2 separate regions of the Homo sapiens genome follow, and region 2 is linked to region 1. Evidence: promoter capture Hi-C in 16 types of primary human blood cells and fetal thymus (Javierre and others, 2016). All regions are on one chromosome and are shown on one strand. Each heading gives the region's core, a stretch centred on a gene start or on the middle of the fragment in contact. The rest is flanking DNA. Distances are from core to core; before and after follow the strand shown. Region 1 holds the start of DCTN4 (dynactin subunit 4). Region 2 overlaps NDST1 (N-deacetylase and N-sulfotransferase 1).

Region 1 (5,587 bases), core at 991-3,490:
CTATGATTAATAAAGAGATTAATAAAATAATCCAATTTGTAACATTGTGATAAAATATCCTCCTGTCTAGGCTAGCTTTATATGACTATAAAACTTGACCATACTTTTAGGTTTTGAAGGACATTTTTTTAAAGATTTCTCATTATTGAAGTAATACAGGTTGACTGAAGGCAAGCATAAATATTTATTTACATAGTCAGCTATGGCCAACCAATTAGAGATTTTTAAACAAATTAATGGGACAGTCTTATTGTACTTAAAAAACTGGAGTCTAAAATTTAAGTTCATTTTATTTTTTAAAAGTCTGAATAATTATTTTCTTTAATGTAGGTCCTATTTGACAATTATAGAACTCTAGTCACCTGCAAATGAAAAGACAATCACTGGAACATAAATACTATGATAGAAACTGGCTTTTTTCATCATCTGCTATAAACAGGTCAATTTGAAAAGATTAATAAAGTTGTTGCTCAAATAATCTCCAGGAACATAAAATACAATATTGCTAACTAACCTCTGCACTGACTCATCAAAAAAGGCAAAATACAAGTCATTCCTTTTTGCCCCCTTTCCAAATTCTGCTTGTCCGTTCATGTGCAGCTCCAGACCCAGATTCTCCATTAGAACTTCACTGCCTGCCCCAGCCCTCAGAGCTTCATCTTTCCCTAAACTCTAATGGCCTCCATATCACAGGTACACATCAGGCTGTAAAAGATGCTGTCACAGACTGGATGTCCTAATTGAAGAGAGTCTTAGAGACAGATCATGGAGACTGAGCACTCTATTCACCACAGGAGAATATGATCCAATAAATTCTGGAGGTGGAGCTGGAATAGGGAATCATCAAGGAGATACACATAAGGAAAGTGCTAATGGAGATGAGAAGAAAAATCGATGCCATATTTTTAATATATACGATTTTTCTTGTATTATTTAATTGCTTTTCTTGACTATTCCTATTATGAAAAGTATCTTCAATAAAATAAGTTATTAATAACACATAAAATGGCTTATAGTATGTGTTTTCATATGCATTTATTTTAACAGTCCCGGGATCTTCAGTAAAAAACACTCTGAGTTAGGCTGTTTAGATTCAAATCCAGGTCCTCCTTCCCACCCCCAAATTACTGGCTGTGTGACTTACAGCGAACACTCTGTATCTGTTTCTTTACCTGTAAAAAAAATTTTTTAAAAAAAGTATCCACTTAAATTGGTTTGAAGATTACATAAAGCACATGACATATAGCAAGTATCGAATAAGCAGCAACTATTACTACTATCAGCTTTTTCTTCACTAAGACTATGGCTTATTAAACAGCGCATTTTATGTCTTACTCGCCTTTTAATCCCTAAAGCTTACTGAATAAACAAGATGTGCCAAGCGCTGCAGAAGTTTTGGGGTTTTGTTATTTGGTGACTTTTTACTGGCCGGGGTCTTCTTTTTGAAAAATCCAACTTCGGACGCCCACTTGTGCCAGGGAAGGACAGCATTGTCCTCTAGCTCCATAAATACACTTTCAGCTTCTTACATGACATACTGTATTCTGAGCGCTTTTCACATAACTCACGCCGCCCCAACCTCTTCCCGGCTGCAGGCCTTGGCCTGAGTCAGGAACAGGGCAAGGCAGTCTGACGAGGGCCCAGTTTCTGGACAAAAGAGGAACAGAACTTTCAGGATGGGAGAACTATGAATGAGAACGCCTGCGCCTCCCTCCATCCTCGCAATAAATCCTGGAAAGGCAGTTTTTCGCCCCTTAAGTGGCCTGAACTAAGCACCCCCAGACCTTTCTCCGTAGTCCACCCAATTACCAAGCCCCATCGCAGACAGACACGGTCCCTAAGTCAAGTTTGTCCAATCAGAGGCCGCTCTAGAACCAGAAGATCCGCTCAGTCCCACCCGAGGCTGCTCCTCCTTTCCAAGTGACAGATTAGAAGCAAATTAAATCGCAGGCAAACCCGAGTGACGGAAGACATAACCAATCAGTAAGGAAGGAAAATAGCTCCAGCCTTCCGGTGGCAGTGACTAGCATGAACGCCGCGCCCCCCCCACCCCACATACTCGCTATAGGGCGACTCTGTTACCTCGTGAGACACACATTCCAGCGACCGCAGTTCGCTACAATAGCGGCAGAAGTAGAGTTGCGAGAGCGGGGCCCGAACCTTCTTTTCTCCCTGGACTAGATAGAGAACCCGGTCCGACTGCAGCAAGGACGCCATCTTGGGGAGGGAGGAGGCGATGACGCTCCCGGCGCATCACGTGACCCGAGAGCCAGCGTCTTCCTCGCTGCCTTCCCTACGACTTCCTACGTAGACTTTGACGTTAGGTTTCCCACCTCGTCCGGCTCTGCGCCCGTCGAAAACCAGAGCGCGCGTGCGCAGCTGGGATCCCTGTTTTCTCCCCAACTCTGGGCCCGTCCCCCAGCGCTTTTGTGAGCGTCCACTGCCCTTACTGCCATTAGGTCTGGACTCAGTGAGCTCCTTTTATTCTTTTCTTCCAGAATGGAAGCCTGATCTTTTGTCTTATTTACGACGGCCTCCTCTGCCCCACTTAACAGGCGAGCATCCAGGAGACAAATGGAAGGTCTCAAAGGGACAGGGCTCCGTGGGGACTGCAAGACAGGAGTCACACCAGCACTGTCTTCTGAGTCTTGCCAATGGCCTTTGGGAACTTTCACATACATTATCTCATTTGAAACGCAGGTTTTTGAGTACATAGTTAGCGTTAGGTCTAAGTCTGTATTGTGGACCTTCAATAAGTATGAAAAGGAGGGAATGAAATCAATGAATGAACAATGTTGGTAGGCGTCTACGTTTTTCTAATGTGTAAACTAAGGCTCAGGTCTGCCTCTTGGGTGAGCAGCGACTACGTGAGACTGGTATTACATGGGTGGGAAAATAATTTATCAACAGTTTTAGGTAAAGAAATGCAGATTTATTAGAGAAGGTATGAAAATACGTTGAAAGGTTGCAATGGGCAGACCAGCCAGAGAGGAGCTGACTTCAAGGAAACAAAGGCTTGCTGGAGATTTTATCCGATGGTTCTTGGGCTGCAGAGTGCTGTGCAGTACCGAGAACTCCAAGGTTACAGGGAGCTAACTTGCATGTGTCTCGTGATAGCTGAGTGCAGGAAGATTGTGAGTTATTTGCACAGGAGGGCTACGTGTCCTGCACCATGAAGAAAGGCAGACTTAGAGTGCATCTGCTCTTCTTGCTATCCCTTGGTCCCACTAGCCTGACTCCCTTTCTCTAACTGGGACTCCCCAGTATGTAAAATGACCACCTAGAACTGCCTAGCAGAAACTGGAGCCTCTGTTGCCTGCCACCAGGTCTACATTTTTATAATTGTAGTAGTGTTGTATTATTACCTGTCTGACGTTAGAGTTGGTGATTGAGAAGAAAGGGAACTGAATACTATTAGCAAACATTTATTGAGCACTTATTAAGTGCAGCACACTGTGTCAAAACTTTACATACATTGTCTAATTTAATTCTTACAACAGCTCCAAAAAGCATGTGGCTATCATTATTTCTATTTTACAGAGCAGGAAACTGAGGCACAGGGAAGTGCAGTGACTCCTCTATAAGGTTTCATAGATGGAGGTAGAACCCTTTTCTCTCTGACTCTAGTGCTTGCAGGTATAACCCCTATGTATACTCCCTCCAGCATATTTTCTAATATGGTGATGTTAATAATACCTTACATTTATATAGACCTTTTCAGCTTATACAGTGCTAATCTCACAATTTATGTCACGCTTTACCAATTGAGCCTAAAAGTCATTACTTGTTCACCAAGCAATAGCCTGGCACTAATTTAGTTTCATAGGTGACATCTGCTCCTAGGAGAGAATATATTACTAGCCAACTCATTTGCAATTATTTCTTTAGGTTAATGAATTCGTTGGTTTTCTGGTTTATAAACTAGTCTCTACTGAGTTTAAATTCCCTTTTCTGGACTATGCTGTTAAAATGAAGTCCCAGAGCCTGCAGGTACAGAAAGGCTGGAGACTTGAGCTGAATCCACATAAAACAGACACTTTTTAGAGCACTGATTTTAAATAATTAAGTGGCCAATTATCTTGTCCCTGCTACATGCCAGGTACTGGGGAGGGAACTAGCGATAAATGAGATACTTTCCATCCTCAAAGGCTCAGGGTTCTAGCAGGATCGAGTCCTAGTTATGCACAATGGTGACCAGCTTGATAATGTAGCCTTGTGTTGCTTTTTCACTCTACCCAGCCCTGGACTCACCCTCATTCACTTCTCAATCCTGGCTTCCTGCCTGCAGAATCTCATTTTGAGCTCTGCTTTCTAGGGGGAACTCAGGCTAATACAGAGACCCTAAAGTTGAACTGGCAGATCAAAGGATATCCACATTTAATAAATACTGGCAATAAGCCCTTGTGAAATTCTAGGCCAATTTACACTCTCACTATAAGTGTATGAGCTATCCATTTCCCACTGTTTTGCCCACCTGGCATATTATCAAATTTGAGTGGATACTTTTGGCACTTTCTAGCTATGTGATCTTGAAAAAGACATTTACACCTCAGAGTCTTGTTTCAAGACACATAGAATGAGAAGAATAATCCCTGCCTTGGTGAAAATAAAAAATCATCCAGGCTGTGAAAGCATTTTGTAAGGTATGAAGTACTAAGCACATGGAAGAAATGCTCCCTAAATATCCCAAGTATGAAAAACCCAAAGTGGTTTTCATTTTTATAAAGAGTCCTTCAGAGTAAATCCACAATAATAATGGAAAAAACTGGAAGTTAGTCAGACTTTGGTCAAATGAGGTCTTGTGAAGGGGACCGAATCTGGGCTCTGACCTCAAAGACTTAGGGTTTTCTACAGCTTAGGAATCTGGGGAACTGCTCTCACCAATGCTGGCCACCTGCCCTGGCTGCCTTCCCCACTTTTGCTTTCCTACTTGAAAACTATATTAATTATAGGGTTTCCTGTGTTGAATCTATTTACAGGCTAATCTAAAAGTCATAGTAAGTGAATAGAGGAGGAAGAAAAAAGAAGTCCCTGTTTCATCAATATCCATGCTAGCCCCTGTGGGGGCCCTTACTGCCCAGGAAATGTGGTGGTGGCAGGGCTAAAGCTAATTTCCCAAGTGTAAACATGGCAAAAGACTGCTGGCCTGCCTTTATTCTGGGAAATCTTTTGAATTGTTTTTGCTTTTGAATTGAACTGAACTTTGAATTTTTCTTTCCTTTTTTTTTTTTTTTTTGAGACGGAGTCTCACTCTATCGCCCAGGCTGGAGTGCAGTGGCACAATCTCAGCTCACTGCAAGCTCCGCCTCCTGGGTTCATGCCATTCTCCTGCCTCAGCCTCCCAAGTAGCTGGGACTACAGGTGCCCGCCACCACGGCCGGCTAATTTTTTTGTATTTTTAGTAGAGATGGGTTTTCACCGTGTTAGCCAAGATGGTCTGGATCTCCTGACCTCATGATCTGCCCTCCTCAGCCCCGCAAAGTGCTGGGATTATAGGCATGAGCCACCACGCCTGGCCCACTAAAACCACTTTTTATGAGAAGTGCACAGATGGGCCTACAGAAGATTCAGAAGCCTGACTAAAATT
Region 2 (5,587 bases), core at 1,990-4,489, 200 kb before region 1:
AGGACATCGGGCTGCGTGAAGTCCAGTGACCCTGAGGGGATTTTGGCCAAAGGAAACAGCCAGGGCTGGGCTAGGAGAGCTGGGGTCAAAAGCTGCCCCACCCACTCTCCCTCACATGGTGCTAGGCTGGGAGCTGCCCTGAGAGCTGGGATGCCCACCAAGGCCCACAGAACTGTCTCCAGGCCCTTGTAGACAGTGGGATCTCTGGGCTGATTTCTGGTTGGGGTCTGCTCCTACCCCACCCCATTTAACAATGTGAAGTGACTGAGGCTGGGGTGCCTCTCCCTGGCCCCCTCCAACTGCCAAATTCTGCTTCCCTCTGAACCCCAGGAAATACTTTCTGGAGAGGCTTGTCTTGTTCAGAAGACTCTAGCATCTTGGGGCTGGAAGGTCCTTTGACGGGTATGAAACAGGTCCAGAAAGGGGAGGTGGCCTGCTTGGCCGACGTCATGGAGCCAGCTGGGAGCAGGGCTGAGCGTTGAACCCGAGGCTCCCGGTTCCAAGTCCCATCGTGCTCCTCTTCCAATGCCACACTGCCTCTGAGCCCATCCTTGGGACCCTACTCTGTGCCAGGTTCCTGTCCCTTCCTCCGTCACAGCATGGTCATTCCAGGATATGGGGACAAACCACTCCTTCCCAGCCAGGGTGCCTTTGAGCCTTCTCATTCCGAGGTCTGCGTTTGCATCCCTGTCGTGTTCTCCCTCGAGGGGTCCTTCCCCAGCCTGTGGGGGCCTGGGTCTGTTCTGAGCTGATTCCCTTTTCTCCAGTTCTCTGCTGGGATGAAGAAAGTTGGACACTCAGTGGGACCAGCTGCAGGTGGTTTCACTGTGTACACAGCAGTGTCCCCATCATGCCTCTCAATGGGGCCTGCAAGCCTGGGAACTTGGGCATCGTTGGGCCAGCAGGATGAGCAGCAAAGGGTCTGAGGACAGGGTGGCATGTCTGCTTGTGTGCTCATGAAGACATGCCCACGCCATGGAGCCAGGGGCTTATAGAGAGGGGCAGTGACTTCCAGAGTCCCATCCGTCAGTGAGGGGACTGGGCTGCGGGATGGGTGAGGATCTTACAGCTCCCAGGTTCGGAAATCTACCCTCTAGGCCTGGAGGCCTCTCTCGCAGAGCATGGAAGGCAGGAGAGGTGGGCTGGCCTAGGGCAGGAGCTCCACTTCTCTCTGCCTCTGGCTATGGGAAGGAGCAGGCGGTTGGAAATCCTGTGACAGCAGAGATCTTCTGGATTTTTGCCTGGACCCTTCTGCAAGCCTGGAGACTGGACCTGCCACATGTTCCAAGTCTGTCTGCCTAGGTCACTGCTGCCACTTCTCCTCCCACTAACAGACCTTTCTTGAAGACCCACTAGGTCCAGACACTGCCGGGACTTGCAGGTATGGGGGGTAGAAGGAGAGGCAGATAAGCTGCCTGGGGGGCTGTTAGCTAATGGGTACAAGGACACCCCCTCCCGAGAAGAGAAGCCACAGATGAGTGGGCCAGCGAGGCCAGTCTTCAATGTCCACTAATTCACTCTAAGCATTTGGCCAAAAAAAGGAGAGAGAAATAACTGAAATTGTTCAGGTGGCTCCATCGTCTATTCTGTGGTCCCCTCCATGAGCCTTTGCCCCAGGGTGGGTGCAGGTGCGAGTGTCACCTGCAGCTGCCTCAGTCATTCAGAGTTCCAGAGCCTTCTGTGGTGGAGCATCCTGCTGCTTGGAGGATGAGTCTGAAGTTTAAAAATGGGCCTTTTCTGAGCCCCCCTGATGAGCAGTCAGTGCTTCTGGGCCCAGCTAAGGAAGCCATCTGTTCCCAGCAGAGGAGAGCTGCTGCGCTGACCTGCAGAGGTTGGTGGTCCCAGCACAGAGCTGTGCCCATGGGCTTGTTAGTGGGAAAAGCAAATACAACAATGTTTTACCAAACATTTAATTATGAATGCCCACTCCCCAGCATCTAGATCTAAAATTATTAACATTTTGCCACATTCTTTTTCTCTCTCTGTGTATGTATATGTTTTCTCTGTCCTAATTTAAAAGTACATTGCAAACATCATGAAACTTGATCCCTGAAAGCTTCAGCCTGCATCTCCTAAGAGTTAGGGCATTGTCCTACACATTGGCCCAGTATCACAGCCAAGACGAGAAGTCATTTCCCAGCGATGTCTGCTATCTAATCTGTATTCAAATCCCCCCAATTGTCTCCCAGGTAACTTATGTGTCTGGTTTTGGAATCAGCATCCAGTCACGGTGCACACATTGCATTTTCTAACTATGTTTTTAAAACCTCTTTGAATGCTGAAAGGTCTTCCCTCAGCTCACTTTGAGTTTTTAAATGACATTGTTTTTGAGGCCCTAGGCCTGCTGTCTTTTTGAAGCCCCACATTCTGAATTTGTCAGATTGTTTGCTCATGGTGTCGCATAACCACTTCTTCTATCCCCTGTACTTTCAAGGATAATTTAGGCTACATGAGATTTTGCCTTTTGTGCTGACTTGACAGCTTCACTTCTGCCTAAGATGCGCCTCCACTGTCACCTGTACCAAGTGCCAAAACAGCAGAGGGGCCAGTTAGAGCAAGAGCTCTGGGGGGGCCGGAAAGTCTCCCTGGAGAAGGCCGTAATATCTGGGCCTTGGAAGGAAGGACACAGGGCTCTGGAAGGAGGAGGCTGCATGCCTGAAGGCTGGGCCTTCGACCCTGGGGATGGGCCACAGGGCACCAAACACATCATATGTCTCTCTCTTTCTATTTTGGGGTCCCAGGGTTTTCATTTCCTGGAGACCCGTGGTCTGTGTGCACTGGAGCAGAGCCAGGCTCTCAGTTGCAGCAGGGAAAAGCCTACATGGGGAACTGCCTCCCGCAAGCTGTGGTGTGAGAAGAGCCCTGGCTGGCAGCAGGAGCTGTGAAGTTTCATCCCAGCCGGGTGCATTTAGTAGCTGCCTGACCATCTTCCTCCCAGGCCCTCAGTTTCTTCATCTGTAGAATGAGCAGATAGGGGCCACAGCAGGGATTTTCACACATCAAAGGAGGCAGCCTCTGCTCTAGTTGATGTGAGGATGAGGGGGCGGCCTAGACCCCCTGCTGCCCAGGCCGTTGAGGCAACACTGGGTTCCTGGCTTGACAGCTGTGGGCTGGCTGCCCTTGCCAGCTCAGACGGCTGGCGAGTTTTCAGCTTCCCTAAGGGACTGGCATAGGGTTTTGTGGGGTCAATGCCAGGAACCTGGGGGAAACTGGATGCGTTTTATCCTAAGAAGTTCATCCCTCCTGCTCTTACTGTTTCCGGCCCTGGAGGAGAATGAGGGAGGAGAGGGTTTTCTATGACTGTGTTAGCTTTTATTATTAGCAAGAGGGCTCCTTTTGTAATTTGTGCATGAAATTCATGTCATTTCCTGGGAGAGGAGAGGGCCGACTGGAGAGGGTGGGGGGCACACTGGGGAAGCAGGCAGAGGTTTCCTTCCCTTGTAGGGGGGTGGGGAGAGTGGGGAGAGGGGGTGCTATCCAGTTCGCCTGATGAGGGCTCTCGAACCAGCCGTTTTGGGTTGTGTTAAAGGTGAGACCTTCCTCCATTAATGTACAATCTCGAACTAACTGCTAATAAAGTGGGGTTCTGTTTGTACACCTTGGTCCTGTCTGACCTTTTTGCAAGGCCCGCAGGGAAGGGTGGAGTAGGGGTGTTTGCATGCACGGCCAAAGCCCGCTTGTCCCTGCCACCTCAGGCATGCACACGTGCCCACATGTATGCACACACCTATACACATGGTGACTTGGTCAACGCAGATCATTTTCACTGGGTTATAAATGGAAGATTTCCCAGATACAGCAGAGGCCTATCCTAGGGCAGCCACAGGGGGCATCTCAGGTGATAGAAGCCCTCAGACAAGCTGGATTGCTCAGAAGCCCTGGGTGTCGGGCACTGGACCGAGAGGAGACTTGGGGGCTGGAACAATTTCTGCTACTAATGTATATTGTAGCTGGGGGCAAGCCACTTTTACTGTTTTATCCCATTTCCCTCACCTTTTAGACGCATGGAGGGAGTTGGACTCCATGGCCTCACTTGAAGAACTTGCCTAAAACATGCAGATTCCCAGGTCTACTTCCAGAGATTCAGCTCCAGCAGATGTGGGGTGGGGCCCAACATCTTTAAGGAGCCCTCCAGTACACTGAGGAATTTATAAGGAGCCCTCCAGTACACTGAGGCAGCCCAGTGTAACTCTGGCTCAGAGTGGGAAACTCTGACTCAGATCCATGGTTCCTATGGGTTCTAATTAATACGGAGAGCCCCACTGTCCAGGAAAACTTAGGGTAAAACAAATGACTGAAGCCCTCACAGCCTAATTGAGGGCCAGACTCGAGATTTGCCTGGAGAAGGAGAGTTCACAGGTAGGGGCCCAGGCCAGTGTCTGCAATGCAGGTGATCAGACATGCTCCTTCAGAATCCCCTTGGGAAGCTTTAAACAATATACATTCCTGGGCTCCCCCAAAATCTGCTCACTCAGAACCTCTGGGGTGGGACCCAGCACTGTGTACTTTAACAGACTCCTTGGTGTTCAGGGAAGTTTGGGAACACTGAATCAGGCCACCATGTTTGTCAGAGACGGTACCCAGAAATGTGCACAGCTTCTGAGGGACAGAGGAGGGGCATGCTGGGGACACAGCTGGGCAGTCCTGCTTCCCAGGACCCAGTATGTTCAAAGTGAAATACCACAGTGCCACCTCTGATGGCACAAGGGCAGCACCTGCAGAGCCCTCTTTGCAGTTCGTCAGCTGGGAGCTTGGTTTGGGTCAGGTGGCCCTCACCAGCAAGAACACAGCTGGAGGCTGCATGGACAAGAGCAGATCCAGAGGCATGGTGCAGAAAGGTGACTGTGCCAACTGAGGGGTCAGCCTGCAACAGGGATTTTTGAATTTACATACAGCTGAGATTCTGTTTTGAAAGAATCACTTAATTGAAAACCAGGTAAAGGTGGGGGTGCTCTGTGGTTGGAGTGGGAGTGAAGCTCTGGACTCTTCCCAGCTCACCTCCTCCCTGTCTCTCAGGCTATCTTGGAACCCTAAGATTTCTCAAAACACATTGTGAAAACCCAGCCCAGTTGCTTCCAGAGGTCCTAAAAGTCCTGCAGTTCTAATAGGCTGAATGAGTAGCAGCCCATCAGCCCCTCCTCACCCCCCACGGGGATGTCCACCCAGTAAATCTGGTGCCCCAGGAGTGGTTTGGGCTTCTAGAGGTGGGGAGTTACCTTGGAGAAGCCTGGATCATGCGTGTAGGGCAGTGTGTTTCACAATAGGAAAACGCTGGGAACAACCTAGATGTCCATCCACAGGGTCTCAGCTAGGTAACCTCCAGTGTATCCATTCACTGTAATGATGATTCAGTTGAAAGTAATGAGCTCAGTCTCCAAGCCCTGCCAGGGAAATTTCTATGACAGACTTATACAATGTGACCATCATGGAAAGAGAACACTACAGTTTGTATTTTTCCTGGGGTTGTAGATAGACGTCTCATATCAAACTGATACTAGGGGAGGAAAGACTGAGAAGGGGAACTTTCAAAGGAGACTTCAGCCTTGGCTGAAATATATATAAGACAAGGATAATGCATTTGCATATC

Evidence for each region. The method cuts DNA at HindIII sites, captures the fragments that hold promoters and counts their contacts. A CHiCAGO score of 5 or more calls a contact.
Region 2: a contact is called between a fragment that was not itself captured here and the fragment with the promoter of DCTN4 in region 1, in 3 of 17 cell types (erythroblasts, M0 macrophages and naive CD4 T cells). The highest score is 5.8, in erythroblasts.

Annotation. Positions count from the first base shown.
Region 1 is chr5:150,756,777-150,762,363 of GRCh38, forward strand. DCTN4 (dynactin subunit 4) reads right to left here and starts at 2,241. Exons shown (of 13, transcript NM_016221.4): 1 at 2,083-2,241. The coding sequence starts at 2,217. RefSeq lists enhancers at 1,517-1,586, 2,017-2,316. The HindIII fragment of the contact is 18,997 bases long and covers 1,354-5,587 here.
Region 2 is chr5:150,554,617-150,560,203 of GRCh38, forward strand. It overlaps NDST1 (N-deacetylase and N-sulfotransferase 1), which reads left to right. Exons shown (of 15, transcript NM_001543.5): 15 at 1-3,595. Among named protein-coding and RNA genes, the nearest start is that of NDST1, 49 kb to the left of the region's middle. RefSeq lists an enhancer at 2,492-2,661. The HindIII fragment of the contact is 2,371 bases long and covers 2,055-4,425 here.